4 separate regions of the Homo sapiens genome follow, and all the other regions are linked to region 3. Evidence: promoter capture Hi-C in human tissues and cell types (Jung and others, 2019). All regions are on one chromosome and are shown on one strand. Each heading gives the region's core, a stretch centred on a gene start or on the middle of the fragment in contact. The rest is flanking DNA. Distances are from core to core; before and after follow the strand shown.

Region 1 (3,777 bases), core at 1-2,500, 1.1 Mb before region 3:
CTCAGAAGCCAGAGTGGAGTTTCTCAGCCCTGGCTACATCAGCTAACAATCTCGCCAAGCAAGGAACCAAGGGGGCAAAGACATCACCTCCAGAAACTCGAGTGTTCCTTCTGCTGACAGAGGAGCAGCCCGCCTGCGGCCTTGTTCTGTGTTTACATCAACCACCCAATTCACCCGTGTCACAGACCTTCAAAATACGGGATTAGGGACAAGGGAAAGGTCTCCAACATCATCCACAGACGGCTGCAGCCCCCTAAGAACACCAAAAGATTCCTTTTCTAGATGGGTTTAGAATGGCAGCCAACAGAGGTAGCACTTGGGGTCGGGAAACGGTTTTGACTGAACACACGCACGAAAGCAAAGGCAATTGTCATGCAGAGGTGGGTGGGGAGGGGAGAGTGAGGCCTGGCTTTGAAGCTGAGCTCCCCGGGGATGACGCCAGGCACATCGGGTTTGGGGCTGAAGATTCAGGGCTGGGGGCACGGAGGAGGGGGCCAGGGCCCAGGCCTGGGCGGAAAAGGGGGTCCCCGGGAGTCGGGGTGGGGTCCCGGGGCAGGCGGGGGAGTGCTCTAGGGAGGTGTCTCACGGCGGGCAGAGGGGGTGGGGAAGTCCCGGGGCGGGGGATATGGGGTCCAGGCGGGTCTCGGGGCGGGGTCTGGGGGTCCAGGGGTCCCGCGGTCCGGGGTGCCGGAGCGGGGTCTGGGGTCGGGACGGGTGTTGGGTCCGGGGCCCGGGGCTGGCTGGGGGTCCGGGACGGGGATGCGGGCGGGTCCCGCGGCCCACGCACCTCCTCCGCCTGCCTGCGCAGCGCCTTCTCACGCTCGTACTGGGTGAGCAGCTGCTCGTTGTCCTCGCGCAGCAGCTCCAGCTCCACCTCGTGCTCCTGGTTCTCGCTGAGCACCGAGTCTAGGTTCTCCAGCACGTTCACCACCAGCGGCATGAGCTCCTTGACCACCTCCTCGTCGTAGCAGTGGATGAGGCGCTCGAACTCGCGGTAGATGGAGCCCGCCAGGCCCGACACCCGCTCCGACATCACCGAGCCGGAGCAGTAGTCGTCCTGGTACACCACCACGCCGCCGCCCTCGTCCATCTGGATCTCCATCATCGCGGCCACCGCCGCCGCCAGCGCGGCTCGCTATCCGGCCGGCGCGCCCGGCCCTCCCCAGCTGCCTCAGGTTCCGCAGGCCGCAGCCCGTCGCCTCCCGCAGCTGCTGTCGCCTCAGGGCTCCGCCGCCGCCGCTGCCGAGGCTGCGCCCGTCACTCACTCACCGGAAGTCCCGCCCTCCAGCCGGAGGGGGCGGTGCCCGCGCGTCCCGCCGCAGCCGCGCCGCCAGGGGGCGCAGGGGCCGTGACGTCAGAGGAAGCCGGGCTTCGGGCCGGAAGCGCGGGTGAGCCGGGCAGAGGGAGCTCCCGGCCAGGCCGGTGGGATCCGCGGGGCGGCAGTGGTCGCTTCCCCCAGCGCGCTGTAGCTTGATCATGTCCCCGCAACCGTGGGCTTCCGGTGACCTCGATCCCGTCTCCAGGCTCTGCACACTTCGGCGGACTTAGGTGAAGGCTCAGCGCCTGCGCCTCAATCCCGGCCGCCCTGATGAGCCTCCGTTCCCTACAGCACCGCGCCCCGCTCAGTGCCTCCCCTCTCCTGATGCCTTCCCCGCTCAGCTGGCTCCTCCCGGGATTCTGTGAATGCACCCTCAACGCCCATCTCATCCTGAAACCCAGCAGCGTGGCCTCCTTCCTTTCGCCCACTTCTCCCTACTGCACTGACTGCTTCAGATTTTCTTTTTTTTTTTTTTTTTTGAGATGGAGTCTTGCTCTGTCGCCCAGGCTGGAGTGCGGTGGCGCGATCCTGGCTCACTGCAAGCTCCGCCTTCTGGGTTCAAGTGATTCTTCTCCCTCAGCCTCCGGAGTAGCTGGGATTACAGACCAGCTAATTTTGTATTTTTAGTAGAGACGGGGTTTCGCCATGTTGGCCAGGCTGGTCTCAAATTTCTGATCTCAAGTGATCCGCCCGCCTCGACCTCCCAGAGTGCTGGGATGACAGGCGTGAGCCACCGCGCCAGTCCAGATTTTCGGTTACTTTTCAGCTACGTGCAATCTGTTTAACCCATCCACTGGGTTATTAATTGCACCGATTTTTTTTTTTTTGAGACGGTGTTTCGCTCTTGTCGCCCAGGCTGGAGTGTGATGGCGCGATCTCGGCTCACTGCAACCTTCGCCTCCTGGGTCCAAGCGATTCTCCTGCCTCAGCCTCCTGAGTAGCTGGGACTACAGACACGCGCTATTAACGCCCGGCTCATTTTTTTGTATTTTTAGTAGAGACGGGGTTTCACCATGTTGGCCAGGCTGGTCTTGAACTGCTGACCTCAAGTGATCCACCCGCCTCCCTCGGCGTCCCAAAGTGCTGGGATTACAGGCGTGAGCCACTGCACCCTGCCAATGATTCTGTTTTTGTCCTATTTGATTTCTTATATTCTAGCAGTTTTAATAGGCTCTTATACTTCCAACCACATATTTATCTTTAAGCGTTGGGTGTGCCTCATAACTACAGTATCTGCAGCCCTTGCAGGTCTGATTCTGCATGTCATCCTGGTTGACTCTTGGCCCAGGGTCCCCTTTCCCCCATTCTGAGCCAGTGTCCCCAGGACTTTTGTCTCTGGAAGTACTTGAGGCCTGAACTTAAAATGTGTTGCTCCGTAAGATTTGCACTTTATTTTGCTGGGCAGGGGACACCATGAACCCAAGACTTTGAAACTCAATTTGGGAGCCACACATGTATTGTGAATCCTGATGAAACCACATCAGTGACTATTTAATGCTAATAGAAATGGCCACTTACCGTCTTTCACCTACTGCAATGCTCATCAGTTCAGATCCTCTCATCCTAATCTGATTGCACCGAAACAGTAACTCCCGTAGCTGACACCCTACTGATTTTTTTTGTTGTTCAGTTTTTAGAGGCAGGGTCTCACCCTGTTGCTCAGGCTGGAGGCACTGGCATGATCAGGGCTCACTTGAACTCTTAGGCTCAAGTGATCCCACCTCAGCCTCCTAAGTAGTTGGGTCTACAGGTGTAAGCCACCACTGCTTGGCCAATTTTAAAAACATTTTTGTAGAGACAGAGGTCTCACTGTTACTCTGGCTGGTCTTGAACTCCTGGCCTCAAGCGATCCTCCCCCTTGGCCTCCCAAAGTGCTTAGATGACAGGTGTGAGCCACCATGCCAGGCTCTATTGTGTTTTTCACATTTTCCACTTGCAACATAATTTGCCGTATACATGTTCAACCATCCCACTAAGAGGTTTCATTCAGCCTCAGATTCCAATTTCCTGGGATCCCAAGTGACTTAATTTTGCCAAATCTCCATTTCTTTTCTTTTCTTTTTTTTTTTTTCCTGAGATGGAGTCTCAGTCTGTGGCCCAGGCTGGAGTGCAGTGGCACCATCTCAGCTCACTGTTACTTCCGCCCCCCGTGTTCAAGCCATTCTCCTGCCTCAGCCTCCCGAGTAGCTGGGACTACAGGCATGTGCTACCACGCCTGGCTAATTTTTGTAATTTTTAGTAGAGATGGGGGTTTCACCATACTGGTCAGGCCGGTCTCAAACTCCTGACCTCAGGTGATCCACCCACCTCAGCCTCCCAGTGTTGGGATTACAGGCATGAGCCACCGTGCCTGGCCCCAAATCTCTGTTTCTAAGCCTGCAAAACAGCCTAAAATATCCAGCCTATTAGGAATGTCAGCTAATCCATGAAAGGAGCATGGCGCCATCTCCAGCAAATAA
Region 2 (4,011 bases), core at 682-3,181, 1.5 Mb before region 3:
AGGCCCAAGAATATCACAATATCTACAGCAGCCATTTTTTTGAGCACTTACTAAGTCCTGCCGTGAAATGCTTTGTGGATAGTATCACAATTTATCCTCCAGTAACCTAAGGGGAGGTAGCATGCATATCCTCATTTTACAGAGGGGCACAGACACTTAGGCAGTGGGCTGGGTGTGGTAGCTCACGTCTGCAATCCCAGCACTTTGGGAGGTTGAGGTGGGAGGACTGCTTGAGGCCAGGAGTTCGAGACCAGTCTAGGTAACATACTGAGACCTCATCTCTATTAAAAATCAAAAAAAATTAGCCGGGCGCTACTCAGGAGGCTGAGGCGGGAGGACTGCTTGAGCCTGGGATGTTGAGGCTGCAGTGAGCTATGATGGCGTCACTGCACCCCAGCCTGGACGACAGAGCGAGACCCTGTCTCAGAAAAAAGAATGACAAAGTGACCAGCTCATGGTCACAAACCACTAAGAGGGGGAATAGGACACATCCAGAGGTGCGGGTGCAAAGCCCAGACTTACAACCTCAAGACTCTGGGACCCCAGGTGAGCCCCTTGGCTTCTCTGAGCCTCAGTTTCTTCATCTGTAAAATGGGGACAGTGAGTCCAACCTCATCTAGGAGGTGACCAGCACAGTGCCTGACCCAGCGGGTACTCAACTGGTCATTGGAAAGGGCAAGAGGAAAGGCCCTAGCATTTGGGGACCCCTCCCAGGAGTGCTGGAAGACCAAGGGCTGCTACCTGAACCTAACAGGAGACCCCACGGAGGGAACGGGAACGGCCAGCTGCCCACAGGATGCCGGGACCCCGGTGCCTGTCACCTTCCCTGTCCCTGCTGTCTGACCTCCTCTGTCCCCCTGGACCTGCTCAATGGTCTGGGGCCACACAGAGTGGGGTGCCAGGCCATGCCTCATAGAATGGGTGCGACCCTCCCCAAATTCTCCAAACGGCCTTGCCCGCTTGGGTGATGAGGGAAACGGAGCCTGAGTCGGGACTCAGACCCCCACTGATCTGCCTCTAGAATGCTGCAGGCCTGACGGGAGAGGGCCTGAGGCGCAGGGTGGCCCAAGCCTTCAGCCAGGAGCTCAGAGGGTCACAAGTCGGGGCCTCCAGCACCCAGGAAGCAGGACTCGCCTGCCTGGGCTGCAGGCTGGAGAGTGGGCAGACGTGGGCCGGGGGTCGGTTGGTGCCGGCGGGAGGTTCCAGCCCCTGTGGATGGAGATGGAGGCGACCCCCAGTCGGTGCGGGGAGTGGGGAGTTGAGCTCCCTCAGTGGGGGTGGTGGGGGCTACCTTGGGGTCAGGCTTCGGACTGAGGCTGGGGGAAGCTGTGGCGCCCGCATTATTTGCGGAGAGGAGCAGGAGGATGCTTGGGGGTTGGGGGTGCGGGTTCCCTGACACCGAATTCATTATTGGGAGATTCCTCTTCACAATCCCTCGACACCTCCCACGGGAACCCTGGGCCAGGAACGCCTGACAGCCTGGCGGGCCGGCTCCAGGGGCACTGGCGCCCGGGTCTCTCGGCGCCCGGTCCCCGCCCGCCCGCTGCCTCGGAACCGTCCCCCGCGGGTCCCGCAGCCTCTGGAAGCCTCTCTGGGCTCAGCCCCGCGCCGCCGCCGCGTCGGGGCTCCCAGTGCACCCCCGGCGGCCGCGTCCCCAGCCCGGCTAGCAGCCCCAGGCCGCCCGCGTCCGCAGAGGCCTGGCCTGAGCGCGCTGCGCGCACGTGGGGAGGGGGCGTCCCGGGGCGGGCGCGGGGAGGGCGGAGCCACGGGCCCGGGCGCGCGGCCGGCGCGGGCTGACGGAGGTCGGCGGCCCGGGAGCGGACCCCGGCGTCCGGGAGGCGGCGCCAGGTGCCGCGCCCCCGCCCCGCGCCCGCCGCGCGCCCCCGCCCCCGGGCCGCCCCCCGCCCGTGACGCGCTCCCCGCCCCCTCCGCGCCGGGAGCCCGAGCCCAAGCCGGAGCCCGAGGAGGGCGAAGGGGCGGCGGGCGGCGAGGAGGCGGCGGGGGAGGCGGCGGGGGAGGCGGCCGGTGCCGCGGGGCCGCCGCCGCCTCTGAGCCGCGCCGAGCTCACGAGCGCAGCCGCGTCGCTGCGGCCCCGGCCGCGCCATGGGGAAGGAGCAGGAGCTGGTGCAGGCGGTGAAGGCGGAGGACGTAGGGACCGCGCAGAGGCTGCTGCAGAGGCCGCGGCCCGGGAAGGCCAGTGAGTGCCGGGGGCGCGGGGCGCGGGTGGGAGCCCCGGGGGCCCCTCCCCGGCGCGGAGCCCCCCACCCGGCGCCGGGCGGGGAGGGGACGTTGTCGGGTCCCCGGGGGCGGGGCGGGGCCAGCAGCGCCCAGACCCTTGGTCCGTGCCCTCCACCCGCTGCCCCCAGCACTGGAGATGGGGCGGCCCCGAGAGCCGGCCGCCACCGTGAGCCCCGCAGCGGGCACCTGGCGGCACCCGCCTCCCGGGCCGCGGGCGTTCGCATCCCTCTCTCTCTACCTCTGTCCCCCTCCCTTCCCAGGCTGCGGGCTGACAGCTGGAGGTCTCTGCTGGGGCCTTCAAAGGGCGAGGCGGATGCCCCCCCCACCCACCACACGCACCGGGAAGACAGGGAGGGGGCCCCTGCGGCGAGGGGCGACCCGGGAGGTGACAGTCCCTAGCAGACCCCCTCCCGCCCCACGTTTAATAACACGCTTTGCAGGGAAGGTGGGGGCAGGACCACGCTGGGGGTGTGGCTGCCCTGGCATGGCCGGTGGGGTGCCATTTACTGATGGGAGAGCAGAGGCCCAAGGTCGCCCAGCCCAGGGCAGGCTGGACTCCAGGCAGGGCCGGCCTGGGCGCAAGGGCTTGGGGCCCTGCTCAGGCAGGCTCCAGCAGAGCCGGGTCTCCAGCTTCCCTGCTGGGAAAGGAGGCCATGAGGGAGTGGGGGACCACCACTGGCCATCCCCAGCTTGCCCTATGGCCGGCCCCAGGAAAGGGCTGGGAGCTTGGAGCCCTGGTCCCAGCACTCATCCTGGCTCAGCGCGTAGCCTCCCTGGGGGCCGCCGGAGATGGATGGATGGGCGTGTGGACCAGCCGCGTGTGCGGCTGCGCACGTATAGCCGTGTCAGTGTGTCAGGGCACCTGTGCGGGCACGGACAGGGCTCTGCAGGTCGGCACGTGGGGTCTGGGCGTCCTCCCTCCTCCCTCCACCCCCACAGACTGTAAGCCAGAGAGTCCCCCTCCCCTTCCTCCAGGGGGATGCCGAGAACTGGGACTGGCTTCTGGGAGATTGTTGGGGGCACCTAGGAGTCCCAGGAGGACCCCCTCCCCCGTACTTCACCAGCAGCCCATGACTGGCTAGCTCCTGTCCACTCTGTGCAGTAAGAGAGAGGGGGCACCGGTGCCTTGCAGGCTGGCCCCGAGCTGATTTCAGGTCCGGGGGCTCAGAAAGGGAGAGCTTGTGGGCAGAGGCAGCCTCAGCTGAGCCTGGAGAGCAGGTGTAGGGATTGAGGGAAGGCAAGGTAAAGGTTTCCACCTAGTGGCCGCATGACCTTGGACACAGACAACTCCAGCTCAGTGGACCTCAGTCTCCTCGTCTGTAGGATGGGATGTCAGCCTCACGGTGGGGTCCTAAGACCAGTGAGCCTGGGCACTTGCAGCCCAGGCATTCAGTAAGTGCTCAGTAAATGCCAGCAATGACCGCAGTCTTGGACGGCCCAGGGCCAGGGGCTGGGGAAGTGGGGGCTTCAGCTCTGGGGAGGTTCCTCCTCCCTTCTATTGTGGCCATTCTGGGGAGGTGTGGGGGCTTCCACTCTCACCTGGGTCTCTGCCTGTCTTGCCTGGCCTCTGGGACAGGAGAGACACCTGCCCTGGCCCCGGCTCCTGCTCTCTGACTCACAGGGGCGGGTGTAATAAATCAGAGGAGAAATCCCTCCATGAATTAGCTCCGTCGTCATGGCAACGCTGGCCTGCTTTGGAGTAAGATGTATTTTGATTCAGTAAAGTACAGCTGAGTTTGGGCCACGAGGTGGGGGGTGTCCAGCAGTATCCTC
Region 3 (3,958 bases), core at 511-3,010:
GAAAGAAGCAGAACCACTCACCGGACGTGGATGTAGCGGTCATGCCAGCTCTCTCCCTTGGGCACAGGGAATGCCATTTCCCGAGGCATAGGAGTCACGGGCAGCTTTGCCCACTGGGCCCCAGAGATGGCTACAAGGAGCAGGGTTGTTCCAGGTCAAGGGAGGCTGTTTAGCCACCTGAACACAGGGCACCCGCCAAGGCACTGCCACGCCACCAGCCCAGCCACCGCCCCACCCCAGGGCTGCCTCTGGGATGGGTTCTGACCCCAGGGCTGCCTCTGGGATGGGTTCTGGCCAGAGCTCAGAGACAGCACAGCTCGAGCACTGTATTTTCCCAAGCACCCTGGACTTGGGCCTCTCCAGGGCTGAGAGCATGGGTGAGATATGGAGTGGGGAGTGCAGGTGCGGCCCTCACCAGGCTCAAAGCACAGGTCACTGGTGTACAGGTTCCTGACCAGCAGGCTGGCGCACAGCCTGATGCTCTTGAGATGGCCGTAGCACCGGTTCAGGTAGACCAGGAGAACGTCCTGCAGATCGAGCTGCAGGCAGGTCCAGCGGGCTCCGGAGGGGGCCAAACCCACCAGATCTGCAGGATGGGCACTCAGGGTCAGCGCCCACCCTCCTGACAGCCCGCGACTCCCAGAACTGTGAGCTTGTGCCCCCGCCAGGTTGTCCTCCAGGCCGCAGAGGAGCCTCACTGGGCCTGCACCAACTCCCTCCAGCCACCTGTCCTGGATCATCCACACCCCATCTTGGTGTCACCTCTCTGAGGTGTCCTGGCCTCCAGGACCAAGGGAAACTGGAGCCACGTGGCCGTAGACTTAAACTCCTTGAAGAGGTTGGAGAAAGACACACGGATGACTTGGTTGTCCTGTGGGGACGGAGCAGGGCCGTGAGGAGACAGGGGCCGCAGGGGTGCCGGGGCTCCCACGCAGCCCCCAGCCGCGGGCTCCGTACCTTGGAGGACACATCGAGGTGGATGACGAAGTGCTTGCTGGGCAGGGGCCGAAAGAGCACATACAGGTATCGTCCCGTCAGCCCCAGAGACTGGGTGCTGCTCTTAGGGAGCTGGATGTAGTTGGCGGCAGAGACTGAGCCCCGAATGCGATACACGGCGCCCTTCAGGGTCTTGTCCTGGAGAAGCGGGAGCCCGCATCACCGACAGCACCCAGAAGAAGTGCAGCGGGGGCGAGGGGGCCCTCGGGGGCGGGGCAGCTCTCCTGGGGGCAGGGCAGGGGTGTGGGCTCCGGGCGAGCCCCCGGCCGCCTACCGTGACCACGGCCACGTCCCCCTGCTTGGCGGAGCGCTTCCACTCGTCCACCCGGAAGTGTCTGAAGACGTTGAGGAACGGGTGCTGCCACGCTGCGGGGAGCGGGCGCCGGGCGTCAGGGGACTCGGCCACGCGAGCCGGGGCCACTGCGGGGCTGGGCCGGGCCTCGGGGACCAGGCAGGAGCCGGGGCTCTCCGCGCCTTCCCCGGCGACGCCAACGCCAGCTAGGCTGGCGGGACGAGGCCGGGCGCCCGAGGGAAGCCAAGCTCCGGGAGCCCGAGGGTGGGCGCCCGGCAGACGGGACCCTGCCTGAGCGGGGACTCTGGCCTCAGGGCCTAGGCGGGGGCCCTGAGCGCTCCGGCCGCCGACCCTGGACCCCGGAACCCCGGAACCCGGGATCCTCGGGACCCCCGCCAGCCGCGCGCTACCTCGGGCCATGGCGCCGCCGCTCGAGCTTCCCGCCTAGGCCTCCGCGCGCCCAGCGCAGAGTACGCCCCGCGACGCCAGGCAACGGCTGCCTGGCAACGGTGCCACTTCCGCCATTACTTCCGCCGTCATGGCGGCGCCCTGGCCACGTGACCTCCCCGGTGGGAGTACCCCGCTCACGTCAGCGGCCTCCAGGGTTGCTCCAGCCGCGAATCCCGCTGCCCTTTGCCCCGCGGGCCTCCCAAGGCAGCCCCCTGTTAGCCCGACCGGCTTCGAAGCCCGCGCCGGTTGCGGATCCTCCGCCGCGCCCACCTGTCAGCGCCTCGGCCGGCCGGGGCTCCCGCCGCATGCAAGCAGCGAGGCGAGGTCGCGCTGAGGCCTGGCCATGCCACGGACGGCCGGGCCTCACCCTGCCGCTCTCTCGCCGTCCAGAGGCCCCTGCTCCACACCTGGGTACCCTGGGTCCTGACTCAGGTGGGCTGGGTCATCCCCGTCCATCAGGGAAGGTAGTGCGGGCGCCCGCGGAGGGGCTGGTTCCCACGTTCGTCCTATCAGGTTCCCCACGTACTCCTTCGCCCAGTGTCCTGCGGCCGGGCCCGGCGGATTCAGAATGGGACCTGGCGTTCTGAGACACAGCCCCAGTGCCGGTAGTGGGGGGTGGTGGACTGCACTCCGGGGCCATTTAATGTCTTTAGGCCTTGAGTCTCGGCTTCGGTCCCAGTCAACGCCAACGGGAGAGGAAAGAGGAACCAAGTGGGGTCCCCAGACTTCCAAGCAAGGTGGGCTGGCTAACGTCCCTCCTACCTGTCGCAGGGCAGCTGGGTGAGAAGCTAACGGCTTGAAGGAACAGGGCTACAAGGGGAGTTTGTGCTGGGCCTGGCGTCCCAGGCTGTGGACTGGAACTGGACATGAGAACCCCCCCTACACCCTCCCAAGTCAAAGACACTCCAAAAAGACAGTTTCTCCACTTTATTAGCCTGGAGCTCCTCCCTGCCAGCCCCAGGGGCTGGTCGCTGGTCCCTGGGCACAGTGAGCAGGGCTGAGGTCAGACGGGTTCGGCCCTTGGCCATGGCAGCTTGGTTGGGACAGCCGGGCCAAGGGAAAAAAAGGTGCAAAAGTCCAAATGCTGGCACTTCAGGTGTGGCCGGCACCCAGCCAGGCGCAGTGGGTGGGCAGGGCGCCATGCTTCTCTCCTGGCGACAGGTCGGCCGTGTAGCAGCGCCCCCTCCCAGCAGCCACTAGGAACAGCTGGTGATTCTCGCCAGGAACTGCTGCGCCCACCACTCGTCTAGGTCAATGGGCACAAAGTCTGTGGGCAGAGAAGGCTGGGCAGTGATGCTGCCTCCCAGGCCAGCCGGCAAGTCTCCCCTGGAGCTAACCACAAGCCGCTCACCCGGACTCCGAGTGCGGCAGGCGCTGGGAAGAAGGGGTTTCTGCACAAGAGTCCCCTCCCTCATCCCCTGGGGTGGGAACCTGGCAGGGCCTGGGTCAGGATCAGAGGGGCTGGGGGGTCTCTCCTGGGGGGACAGGGTTGGGGGGCTCACTCTGCAGCCGGGGATTGGGGGTCCTCTCCACGTACTGCACAGGCCTTGGCCCGCCCTCACCGGCTGGGCCACCATCCAGCTGCTGTTGCACCTGCTGCCAGGCTGTGGGAGGAGGGCAGTCGGGCTGAGCCAGGTCCCAGGCACCCCATCGCCCACCCAGGGCCTGATGGTCACCCTGGACTCCAGCCCCACACAGGGCTGGTCACAGGACACAAGGGCAGAGTGCCAAGGAAAAGCACAGCCATGCAGCGGCTGTGGGTCAGCTTGAAGTGGGGCCATCCCGGGTCCATGGTTTTGCGACCCAGCAGCCTATGCCGCACCCTCTGGCCCCGCTCGCTACCTTCGGACACAAAGCGGACATTCTCCTCGTGGGCCACTGTGTAGGTCTCCTGGGTCCCCTCGAAGGATGGGGACGTGGAGGGGGCCCGCCGGCCATTCACACGATTGAACACAAGCCTTGGCCCTGGACTGCAGGAAGGGAGGAGACGGACATGGTTGGTGCCCATCCCAGGTGCGGTGCTGCCTGGCAGAACTCAGGAGCAGCCCCGGGCCAGCCCACTTTCCCCAGACTTGGCCAGCCTAGGCACTTCCTGAACCAGAGAGAGCAGCCACCCACAGCAGCCGGTGGCCCAGGCCTCTCTTGCAGTCCCCAAGCCATCGGCAGCTCAGCTCACACCTGCAGCCCTGTGTCCTGAGGGAAGTGAGTGACTGTAGGGTG
Region 4 (2,548 bases), core at 1-2,500, 1.3 Mb before region 3:
GGCTCCAACAGGGAGCCTCCAGCAAGCAGAACTTACCACCTTACGGCCTCAGCTTCCTCACTGGGAAATGAACGAGCTAAAAGGAGAGCTCGAACATCCAGACACATAGGACAGACATGCTCTACAACTGCTACAAAAGAGAGGGAGCTGGGTCCGCTGTTGCACGGTTTCCAGATCTTTGGGGGTTTGATTTGGAGACTTCACCCTCTTACGGAAGAACCACCAGAGCATGCTATGCACCCCAAGTGTTCAAAAAGAACTGAACCAGGCTGGACACGGTGGCTCAGGCCTGTAATCCCAGCACCTGGGGGCCAAGGTGGGAGGATCACCTGAGGTCAGGAGTTCGAGACCAGCCTGGCCAACATGGTGAAACCCCGTGTCTACTAAAAATATAAAAATTAGCTGGGCGTGGTGGTGGTGCGCCTGTAATCCTAGTACTGGGGAGGCTGAGGCAGGAGAATCGCTTGAACCCGGGGTGGGGCAGAGGTTGCAGTGAGCCGAGATCGCGCCACTGCACTCCAGCCTGGGCAACAGAGTGAGACTGTCTCAGGAAAAAAAAAAACAACAAAAACTGAACTGGGCATTTTCCCGGTTCGTTCCAGAGATGCTGAATTTGGGCATCTCGGCCATCACCCCGACACTTGGTCATCCGGCAGAGAGACATTTGAGAGAGGCCTGAGGCCAGCGGTGCAGTGGAGGGGTGCCCGGGGCGGCGGGGGGCGGAGAGCAGTGCGGGGTCCTGGGGCAGTGGGCGCTGGGTGCGGCAGGGAGGGAAGAGTCCTGGGAAGAAGCGGGGCATCCCGGGGTGCAGGGGAGAGTAAGGGATCCTGGGAGGTGAGGTCCGGGGTGCAGTGGGAGGCCAAAGGAGGCGACGGAGCTCGGAGGTCTCCGGGGGTGGGGAGTTGTCCCCGGGGTGCAGCGGGGGGCGGTCTCAGGCAGACGGGACCCCGGAGGCATTGGAGGATCCAGGCAGGGTGTGGGATCCAGGGGTCCCCAGAGGCCGGCGAGGGAGCCCCGGGCTGGGGCTTCGTACCTCTCACGAGGGTCACGGGTCGGTCCACGATGAGGTCGAACGCTTTCATCATGTAGACGATGGGATTGGGCTGCACCGGCGTGCGGCGCGGGGGCTCAGGGTACACATCCTTGTCCCAGCTGTCCGGCATGGCGGCGGCGGGCGCGGACTCCGCTCCCGGACGCGCTGCCCTGGCCTCTACCTCCGTCCGGGTCCCGCGGCCTAGGTCGCCCGCTACAGAGGACGCCGAGGGCGGCTGCGTCTGCGCGCTGGCGCCGCGATGCACCATGGGACTTGTAGTTCCCCGGCTCCGCCGGGCGCGGCCGGGACCCGCCTCGCCGCAGGGCGCCCCCGCGTGGGGCCTCCGTTCTCGGTCTGTGCCGAGCGCCTACGCGGTGCTGGTCGCTGGTCTGGGCGCCTGGGAAGCAGCCGCGAACCGGACAGATTCCTGCTTACGATGAAAGAAACAGACAAAAGGCAACTGACATAAGGAATAGGAGGGGGTCATTCGGTTCCCACTGCGCGCCAGGCACTGTGCTGAGTGCAGCAGGGAATAAGATAAACTGTGATGGAGAACACAGGCCGTTAGAGCGCACACGACAAAGTGAACAAATAGCACGCGATTCCAAACACCCTACTCCTCCAGGAAGCTTTCCTGGATTGCCTAGTCCCTACAGACTTCTCTGGGCCCCGCTCTCTACAAGGGCCCCTCATGGACTGGCTGGTGCCAGTTAACTTGGGAGCCTGTCTGGGGGAGGGCAGGGAGCAGACCAGGAGGCAGGGCTTGCCCTTAGGCGGCTCATAGGGAGAAGGCACCTACCCTGGGCACAGGGCCCTCTGGCCGGCTTTGATGGTTCCATCCTGGCCCTGGGGCACTCTGGTGCTTCTAGGCAGCTCCACTGAGCAGGGTCCTGCTGGCCACATCTTCAGTCTCCACACCTGGCACGGCCCCTGGCTGCTATCCAGGGGGGACACTGGTCATGTCCTGTCCTGAGGTTGAGGCCAGCGACACAGAACCATCAACCCTACAGACAAACAGTGAGAGGTGACAGCGTGCTGGCAGTCCTCAGAGCCCTCGCTCGCTCTCGGCGCCTCCTCTGCCTGGGCTCCCACTTTGGCGGCACTTGAGGAGCCCCTTTCTGGGCTGGCCAAGGCCAGAGCGGGCTCCCTCAGCTTGCGGGGAGGTGTGGAGGGAGAGGCGCAGGCGGGAACCGGGGCTGCGCGCGGTGCTTTGCGGGCCAGCGCGAATTCCAGGTGGGTGTGGGCTCGGCGGGCCCCGCACTCGGAGAGCCTGGCCGGCCCTGCCGGCCCTGGGCAATGAGGGGCTTAGCACCCGGGCCAGCGGCTGCGGAGGGTGTGCTGGGTCCCCCAGCAGGCCGGCCCACCGGCGCTGCGCTCGATTTCTCTCGCCAGGCCTTAGCTGCCTCCCCGCGGGGCAGGGCTCGGGACCTACAGCCCGCCATGCCTGAGCCTCCCCCACTCCGTGGGCTCCTGTGCGGCCCGAACCTCCCCGACGAGCGCCGCCCCCTGCTCCAG

What was found. Contacts are between HindIII fragments. The study calls those that stand out against the background at their distance.
Region 1: a contact is called between the fragment with the promoter of MAPK8IP3 here and the fragment with the promoter of WDR90 in region 3, in 1 of the 25 tissues and cell types used here (spleen).
Region 2: a contact is called between the fragment with the promoter of CASKIN1 here and the fragment with the promoter of WDR90 in region 3, in 1 of the 25 tissues and cell types used here (lymphoblastoid cells).
Region 4: a contact is called between the fragment with the promoter of NDUFB10 here and the fragment with the promoter of WDR90 in region 3, in 1 of the 25 tissues and cell types used here (lymphoblastoid cells).

The regions. Positions count from the first base shown.
Region 1 is chr16:1,703,668-1,707,444 of GRCh38, reverse strand. MAPK8IP3 (mitogen-activated protein kinase 8 interacting protein 3) reads right to left here and starts at 1,250. Exons shown (of 32, transcript NM_001318852.2): 1 at 788-1,250. The coding sequence starts at 1,105. RefSeq lists silencers at 707-756, 777-886, 1,157-1,496, 2,403-2,697 and an enhancer at 1,055-1,919. The HindIII fragment of the contact is 16,634 bases long and covers 1-3,777 here.
Region 2 is chr16:2,194,525-2,198,535 of GRCh38, reverse strand. It overlaps CASKIN1 (CASK interacting protein 1), which reads left to right and starts at 1,931. Exons shown (of 20, transcript NM_020764.4): 1 at 1,931-2,197. The coding sequence starts at 2,104. The HindIII fragment of the contact is 36,898 bases long and covers 1-4,011 here.
Region 3 is chr16:647,167-651,124 of GRCh38, reverse strand. WDR90 (WD repeat domain 90) reads right to left here and starts at 1,760. Exons shown (of 41, transcript NM_145294.5): 1 at 1,699-1,760; 2 at 1,271-1,362; 3 at 958-1,134; 4 at 763-871; 5 at 416-586; 6 at 22-130. The coding sequence starts at 1,708. MCRIP2 (MAPK regulated corepressor interacting protein 2) reads right to left here. Exons shown (of 5, transcript NM_138418.4): 3 at 3,581-3,708; 4 at 3,241-3,342; 5 at 2,651-3,005. The coding sequence ends at 2,935. It overlaps LOC105371038 (a long non-coding RNA gene), which reads left to right and starts at 1,812. Exons shown (of 2, transcript NR_135177.1): 1 at 1,812-2,170; 2 at 2,510-2,667. RefSeq lists silencers at 1,386-1,515, 1,626-1,725 and enhancers at 901-1,723, 3,146-3,195. The HindIII fragment of the contact is 7,525 bases long and covers 1-3,958 here.
Region 4 is chr16:1,958,240-1,960,787 of GRCh38, reverse strand. It overlaps NDUFB10 (NADH:ubiquinone oxidoreductase subunit B10), which reads right to left and starts at 1,250. Exons shown (of 4, transcript NM_004548.3): 1 at 1,034-1,250. The coding sequence starts at 1,163. RefSeq lists silencers at 621-730, 1,161-1,470 and an enhancer at 2,193-2,548. The HindIII fragment of the contact is 2,906 bases long and covers 1-2,283 here.